Linked DNA regions of Homo sapiens: all the other regions are linked to region 1. The links are contacts of gene promoters, found by promoter capture Hi-C in blood cells and fetal thymus (Javierre and others, 2016). All regions are on one chromosome and are shown on one strand. Each heading gives the region's core, a stretch centred on a gene start or on the middle of the fragment in contact. The rest is flanking DNA. Distances are from core to core; before and after follow the strand shown. Region 1 overlaps SLAMF1 (signaling lymphocytic activation molecule family member 1). Region 2 holds the start of PEX19 (peroxisomal biogenesis factor 19). Region 3 holds the start of ITLN1 (intelectin 1).

What was found. The method cuts DNA at HindIII sites, captures the fragments that hold promoters and counts their contacts. A CHiCAGO score of 5 or more calls a contact.
Region 2: the fragment with the promoter of PEX19 here is called in contact with a fragment that was not itself captured in region 1 in 3 of 17 cell types (fetal thymus, total B cells and activated CD4 T cells); the score reaches 6.0 in fetal thymus.
Region 3: the fragment with the promoter of ITLN1 here is called in contact with a fragment that was not itself captured in region 1 in 5 of 17 cell types (naive CD4 T cells, megakaryocytes, fetal thymus and 2 more); the score reaches 6.5 in naive CD4 T cells.

Annotation. Positions count from the first base shown.
Region 1 is chr1:160,620,020-160,622,719 of GRCh38, reverse strand. All of the region lies in intron 4 of SLAMF1 (signaling lymphocytic activation molecule family member 1), which reads left to right. Among named protein-coding and RNA genes, the nearest start is that of SLAMF1, 26 kb to the left of the region's middle. The HindIII fragment of the contact is 1,693 bases long and covers 502-2,194 here.
Region 2 is chr1:160,283,829-160,286,528 of GRCh38, reverse strand. It overlaps PEX19 (peroxisomal biogenesis factor 19), which reads left to right and starts at 1,396. Exons shown (of 8, transcript NM_002857.4): 1 at 1,396-1,474. The coding sequence starts at 1,405. It overlaps LOC107985219 (a long non-coding RNA gene), which reads right to left and starts at 2,164. Exons shown (of 3, transcript XR_001738265.2): 1 at 1,674-2,164; 2 at 168-212. The HindIII fragment of the contact is 4,290 bases long and covers 1,262-2,700 here.
Region 3 is chr1:160,883,839-160,886,538 of GRCh38, reverse strand. It overlaps ITLN1 (intelectin 1), which reads left to right and starts at 1,359. Exons shown (of 8, transcript NM_017625.3): 1 at 1,359-1,478; 2 at 1,656-1,719. The coding sequence starts at 1,662. The HindIII fragment of the contact is 4,692 bases long and covers 1,348-2,700 here.

The sequences.
Region 1 (2,700 bases), core at 99-2,598:
AATGACTTAACTTCTCGTCTGCAAAACAGGGGTAATACTATGTACTTCATGGTATTGTGGTGGAGATTGGTATCAATACACAGAAAACACTGAACACAGTGGTTCCCATCGATGGGTGATAGATAGATAGATACATAGACAGATAGATACATAGACAGATAGACAGATCTCTTAGTGTAGATGAATTAAAATGGCAATGTGTAAGTGCTATGGCCAGGAGAAGCTGCACTGGAAGCATCTGGAAACAATACCTAGAACAGATTGAAAATATTTTAAGTCATGGTAACATAAGACTTTATGCTTCAGGTAAAAGCTGAAAAGGATATTAGATACTCTATGCCCTCATTTTACAGTTATGGTAAGAGAAAAGACCCATTGAGATGACGTGATTTGTCCAATGCCACACAGCTAATGATGGCTACAATGTAGATGTCCTAATTTTAAGGCCAAGACTTTTTCCTTAGAGCCTAAGACCTTGCTGACTTGGAGCCGAGTTAAGCTTACTCCTAAAAACCTGTTCTTGCACTGGGGAAAATAACCTGAGACTAAATTATCTTGGTCCAATGGTCCTTTTAAGCAGCAACAATCAACCTCACCTCTTCCATCTGTCTGACCATTTAGGACTGTCCTTCCAGTTCTACATTTGACTCTGAGCTGACCTGCAAGACTGAAAGTCTTTGAGGACTGTAGTCTGTTCTCTACTCTATTTGTAGCCACTACAGCACCTAGGAGAGTGCTGGGCAGGCATGTCTTACTTTGCAAACACTCGTGGGGACTAACTTGAACCTCCTCTGCTACCTCCAACTGCTTCTTGAGTCCTCCCCTCCATTTTACACACACACACACACACACACACACACACACGCACTCACGCACACTCCTCAGTCAGGATCAACTCTGACCAAAAAAGCGAAGTTGAAACCACTAGGCACACCGTGCTCATACCCACACACAAAAAATCCCATGTTGACTTTCCTTGAATTCCTGGAACTTCATCAGTGTCTGCCCCACATTTCCTCCCCAAGACTCACACCCTCACGCAGCACATTCCACCATGCTCACCACATACACACTGGGCCTTTCCCTTCCAAAGAAAAATGTGCCTCTCCTAAAAATGCTATTTCCTCAGAGATGTGCCTTTTTTTTTTTTTTTTTTTTTTTGAGATAGATTCTTGCTCTGTCACTCAGGCTGGAGTGCAATGGCATGATCTCGGCTCACTGCAACCTCTGTCTCCTGGGCTCAAGCAGTTCTTCTGTCTCAGCCTCCTGAGTAGCTGAAATTATAAGCGCGTGCCACCATGCCTGGCTAATTTTTGTATTTTTAGTAGAGACAGGGTTTCCCCATGTTGGCCAGGCTGGTCTCAAACTCCTGACCTCGTGATCTGCCCACCTCAGCCTCCCATAGTGCTGTGATTATAGGCGTGAGCCACTGCACCCAGCCCAGTTTTTTAAGAGAATAAATTAACTGGTGTTAAAATAAGTCTACCTTAAAGGCTGTGATTTTCTGGGTCCAGCCTCCATTGCCTCTGCCTGGACTTTGCAATAATCCCATAATAAACCTCCATCCTTCAGTCTGCCACTTTCCCACCATCCTTACTGCTGCATGATGTATACAAAGGATACTGTGCAACTTTAGAAAGAATGAGATAGGTCTACTGTGCTAACATGAAAAATGTCCTCAATACATTTTAAGTGAAAAGATCAAGTTACAGAGAAGTGTGTGCAGAATGACACCTCTTGTGTGGAAAAAAGTCTATATAAGTATAGCAAATATCCAAAACTGCATTGTCTAATATGGTAGTCACTAGCCACATGTGGCTTTTTAAATTTAAATTAATTTGAATTAAATAAAATTTAAAATTCAGTGACATTAGTCACAGTTCAGGTGCTCCATAGCCCCGTGTCTGTAAGCTGTATTAGACACTGCAGATATGGAACATTTCCATCATCTCAGAAAGTTCTGTTGCACAGAGCTGATCTACAGGGATATACATCAAACTTTTAAAAATGGTTTCTTCTTTTTTTTCCCACTTCTTTTCACAGGTATTGAAAAATACGGTTTCTTTTGGGAATGAAATTGGGTTGGTTAATGGAAGAAGGGGATTTATACTTTTTACTTTATACTTTATATATTTCTTCACAATTTTTATTTTATGATGAGAATAAATTACTCCTATAATTTAAAAAGAAAGCTTTTTAAAATTGGCTAAAAATTAAAATATTCTGCAACTTATTAATTTCCAGAGACCCTAGGCCCTGAGCAAAATTTCCAGATGGTGGGCAACAGAATGACATTGTTGCTTTATTTTCTAAATAGTCCCAGGTGGAACATCCCTCTTACACGTCCCCCCGCCCTTACCTCCCACACATCAATTCCCCCAGAAATAGGGAGGTGAGAAAGCTGTGAGTGAAGCAACATACTACCAGCTGGAAAATACAAAAGAGGTATAAACAACTAGCCCTGCCCTCAAAGAACTTAGAATCCTATTAGGAGACCAGATATGCACATTGAGCAACAGAGATTAAAGTAATTGAATGGTACACCAATGAGAAAAACACCTAATGCGTATTGGGCATTTGTTATGCACCAGGCAGTGTTCTAAACACTTTACAAGTGGTATCTCATTTAATTATCACAACAGCCCCGTGAGGCAGGTATTTCAAATCCCATTTCACAGATAGGCCTAGAGTGATCAAGTA
Region 2 (2,700 bases), core at 147-2,646, 340 kb after region 1:
AGCAGGGGGTGGTCCTGATTTATCTCTCTGTCCTCACTGTGCCCAGAACAAGACCTTAATAATAGGTGCTCTCTAAGTGCGAAAACAGATTTGTATGTGAAACAGTTGCTACATTCTGACATCTGAATAGAACAATTCCAAAGGAGGAAAGGGACGTCTAGAGTTACCTCTATCTGAGCATTCCCCGTGTTCACTCAGTTGGAGGTTGGGTTCTGTGTGGAGAAAAGGAGATTGTTCAGGGAAAGTAAGTCTATTACTACTGCATTCGAATTGCCCTGCTCAGTCCAAGGTACCAGAGGCTCTCTTAATAACATGGAGTTCTAAGTTCCTGGCCGGCCCTGTGTCCTTTAATCAAACAGTTCTAATAGATAATAGGAAATGAGAGATGCCACTAGATTGGGCAGACAGATGTGCCTGATTAGGGACTGCGAGAGCAAAGAGTGGCCAATGAATGCCTACTAAGTTTTAAACCCTAGCCTGGGAGTTGGGCTTTACAGCAGTGAAGACAACAGACGAAAATCTTTGCGTTCATGGTGTTTAAATTCTGCAGGGTGGGGAGCGGAGAATAAAAAAGTACGGTAGATAGTATGTCAGATACTGTTCAGTGTTAGGAAGAAAAGGAACGGGAATGGCCAAGGAAAGCGTTTCAGAAAAGATAATATTTGAGGGAAACAATGAAGTGAAGCCGGGCGCAGTGGCTCACGCCTGTAATCCCAGCACTTCGGGAGGCCGAGGTGGGCGGATCAGCTGAGGTCCGGAGTTCGAGACCAGCCTGGCCAACCAGCCTGGCCAACATGTTAAAACCCCGTCTCTACAAAAATTAGTCGGACGTGGTGTCGCGCGCCTGTCATCCCAGCTACACGGGAGGCTGAGGCAGGAAGAATCGCTTGAACCCGGGAGGCCAAGGCTGCAGTGAGCCGAGATGGCGCCACTGCATTCCAGCGTAGGCGACAGAGCAAGATTCCTTCTCAAAAAAAAATAAAAAAAAAAAAATGAAGTGAGAGAAAGTAGTATGTTATGTGCCATAATTGTCATATCAATTATATATGTTTAGATTCTGGTTATTTGTAGGCAGTTTGTCTCAATCTGGCCTACTCACAGCTCAGGAAAAAATAATGAAAGAGCTTCGCCAGGTAATTTGGGAAGTTGAAAGAAAGGAGTCCGGGCCTCTAAAACCAGACAGAAAATAACCCTATCTTATCCCTAATTCTGTTTCACAGGAGAAAAGGGAAAAATACCCAAAACACAAACACTCAAAGCTTCCTGGCCCTTTAAAAATGGCGGTTCCGCACTGGTCAACAATACCATTGGTTACCCGAGGCAGAAGAGGGCGGGAGCGAAGGGGTGGAGGGCGTGTCGGCACCGAGGAGGTCCCGCCTCCTACGGCAAGTCGGAGGTAGCAAGATGGCCGCCGCTGAGGAAGGCTGTAGTGTCGGGGCCGAAGCGGACAGGGAATTGGAGGAGCTTCTGGAAAGTAAGAGCCCATAGTGGGAAAGGCCCGAAGAGGGCACGTGTGAGGACCCATTCTGGGGGTTAAGTGAACCTGAGATATTAGGGACGGGCAGGAGAGGCTCTCCAAAGGTTAAATGGGGGCGGAGAGTCTGACCCCCGAGCCCCCCAAAAATCTCTGGGTCATCCTGCCCCACCCCGGCGACTGGAGCTGGGGAGCTCACCTGGGGTCCCTCAGTGGTCCGGATGGTGGATGTTTCCGCAGGACGGCGTTTCATGATACCTCTTCAAACTCCTCTTTAGGTTACTGAGTTCTTAAAGTTCGACTTCAGCAGCAGTAGCAGCAGCAGCAGCATTTGGTTCTTGCTGGGTAGCGAACTACGCACTCACTGATTGCTTACATTAACTCCTAGCAAGCTCGTGGCCGGTCCTTGTGTGCCTCGTCCTGTCTTCCTTAACACGAAAGACACTTTTCTCCTCCTAGTCCTTTTCTCTTTCTCTCGTTAGGCCCCTTAACAGTTCTTTCATCTTGTCAGTAGCTCAAGCGGACTCCTTTCCCTTATTTTGAGAAACTGAGGATGTGGCGATTTCAGGGGAAAGCAGTTCACCCTCCTGAAAGACGGGGGATGTTTTCTTAGCATTACTCTCCACTCCCCTGTTGACTTCCTGCCCAGAGTAGGGCCAGTGCTCTCTCCCTAGGCCTGGCGAACAGAATGGTGGTGAGGACACAGGCTTTTCAGGGCAGAGGTGAATTTGTAATCGCTTGCTCAATCACGGAGATGTGGGCAGGCAGAAAAATGAACAGAAACCCTGAGGAGTGCCAAGTGACTGTGTAAATTAGTGTACGGTTATCTGCAGAGATCAGGCCAAAGGGAGCTCTAGAAGGTTGTTGGGGAGCACTAAACTGGAGAATAAGAGAAGATAGTTTAATGCCGTACCATGGAGTCTGGTATGTAGTCCCTCAGTCTGTGCTGGTACCAGTACCAACAGGAAGCTGGGTGGGATGTCCTGTGCTTTCTCACCAAGTTATTCCTTTTAGAGCTCCAGAGTGAGTTCAGAGGGATGAGGACATCTGTGTTCTCTACTACTGTTGGGTATTTGTATGGGATTTCTAGGGAATCGTTAGGGTGTGGCAAGGGAGACACTATAGATGGAGATGTCTCTGCAGAACTTTTTAATCCTCTCCTCCCAGCTCTGAGATGGACATTTGTTCCACCTTAAGGGATTTCTTTGCCTTTGCTCACAATAAAT
Region 3 (2,700 bases), core at 110-2,609, 260 kb before region 1:
TTCTAAGAGGTTGTTGTTTGTAAATATGAAAGCTGGGTATGTTCATTTTGTTACCTATACTGATGAGTTAATTTAGTTTCTAATACATTTAATTTTATTTAATTAATTATTTTCCAGATACACAGAGCAAATAGCTTCTAATAGATTTTAAATTTACAAAAGTATAACTTTTTTTTGCAGTTTTTCTTCTTGGGTGCTATTTTATTTTCTTCTATCAATATGTGAGTATTTTTTGCAAATCAGTACTTTGAACCAACAAATAGGAAATATTAGCTTAACAAAAAAGATATTCACAATCTTTGTAAGAAAAGGTTGCAGTATTATTAATGCTATAATGACATTATGTATTAAATGTATGATATCACTGGGGAAGAACTGAGTAATTCTATTACAGCTGCAGGGTAGCATTTGAGAACTTCATGACATAGGAGCAGGAATAAGACAGGAGGTTCGAAGCAGCAGAGAGGTTTCGTATTGATTCAGTTTCAAATGAATCCTGTAGTAAATTTTCCCTCGTTTGTGGCAAAATGACAAAATTAAAGACAAAGTAGTGAGTCTTTGTGTGAAACTAAATTATTCAAACTAAAGATTTATATATTTTTTAAAACTTTTCTATTCGTATTTTTTTGTGTGTTTTGTATCTCTTTCCCCTCCATTCCTTTTTACCAATTTATTCAGAAATGATCACTTTCCCATTTTGTTAAAATTTCCTTTTTCTATTTCTATGAATTGATAATTATGGCCAATGATTAATTTCATTTATTTATTTATTTTGAGATACCTAAGCTGAAGTACAGTGGCACGGTCATATTTCACTGAATCCTCTATCTCTGGGACTTAAGTTACCCTTTTGCCTTGCCTCAGCCCCACCTGAAACTATAGGCAAGTACCACCATGCCATGCTAATTTTTTTACTTTTATTTTTAGTAGAGAAGAGGTTGCCCTATGTTGCCCAGGCTGGTCTCAAACTCCTGAGTTCAAGTGATCCTTCTGCCTTGGCCTCCCAAAGTATTGGGATTTGAGCCAATGTGCCAAGCCAACAGATGCTTAATTTAGAGAAAGTTTTTATTTTGCAAGAAAGAAAGGCACAAAAACCCAAAACCAACACCAACTCTTGTTAATCTCTTCGTCTACTTCCTACTTGACACAGGTCCATGAAACCCCCAGATCCAGGAACAACGCTAGCAGGTGATTCTTAGGATTGGTTTTTTCTTTAGAACCTGTTAATTCCACTGTATAAATAACCTCCCCGAGATAACCAGAAGCCTCCCCTGCACTGGGCATTGTGCCAGGGGAGGGTGAGGCTGGAAACCTTGGTTGGCCCCACTGGGCTTCCTCCATAAAGCTTTCTGCACCTCATTCCACATCAGGAGCGTTTTTGGAGAAAGCTGCACTCTGTTGAGCTCCAGGGCGCAGTGGAGGGAGGGAGTGAAGGAGCTCTCTGTACCCAAGGAAAGTGCAGCTGAGACTCAGACAAGGTCTGTGAGTTGGGGGAATCCTGTTTTCAGCTTAGGTCTGCTTTTGGTCTCAGAGATGTGTGAAGTTTAAACAAAAGGCAAGGGGTTTTGGAGTCTTTGTAAGACTGGACAGGGGTGGGGCAGGGATGTAGAGAAAAATGATGGCCAAGATGGTGACCTTCATCTTGCTTTCTTTAGATTACAATGAACCAACTCAGCTTCCTGCTGTTTCTCATAGCGACCACCAGAGGATGGAGTACAGGTGAGTCACGCTGCTAGGGACAGCAGTTCCTTCAGCTGGATGACTTCCGGGATCCTGGTCTCTCCCAGGACACAGAGCATGTCCTTGAGATGCACAGCGGCTGGCTTGCATGTAGACTGAGTGCCGATTTCTGGTCTCTGGCGGAATCTGGCCTGTGGCAGTGAAGGTATTGCTTGAGGCATGTCCTGGGTCCAGGCTCTGTGCTTTTGTGTGGCCCTGAGGGGGCTGTGGCAAGAACTGTGTCACCTTCCAGCCACTGCCCACTCCTGTGGCCTTGGCTGTGGGATTTCCATGGGAACTACATGGTCTGCTTTGTGCCTGGAGAATGTTCTCTCCACAGTTTTCCTCTCTACAACAAGAATAACAATGACATTTTAAAATTTATATTTTTCTTCACGTCTAAAAATTTTTTTTTTAAAGAAAAGGCTGTTTCGAAATATCTTCTTACTTCATCTTTGCAAAAGCACTGTTTATTAACTGTGTTTTAGGTATGAGGAAACTGAGGTCAGTCACCTCTGACCTCACAGCTTTCCCCTAGACTGTTCGAATAGTTTGCAGACTTTTTGGAGTAGAGATTAGTCTCACCACTCCCTACTTCACACCCCATGTTTCAGCCATATTAAGCAGCTTGTAGTTCTACAGCTGGACTACGCTGTATTTTTTTTTTTTTCTCTAGGCCTTTGGATATGCTGTTTTCCCTGCCTTGGATTGGCTTCCTACTGATAAATCATGTTTATTCTCTCAGAATAAGCTAAGATGTCACCTGGACTGGAAGGTCTTCTGTGACTAAGACATGAGACAACCCGTCTTGCCTTCTTCTCCCAGGCAACTGCCCCGCTTACTGTCTGGCGTTTCCATTCTCCACTGTTACCTCAGAGTCTTTCTTTTGTTCTCTTGAGTTTGCCTTTCTTCTACCATTTATTCTTGTCAATACAATTTTCTGTTGACTTGTTAGCAATTCCCTCTAGAGGCAAGCTCTTG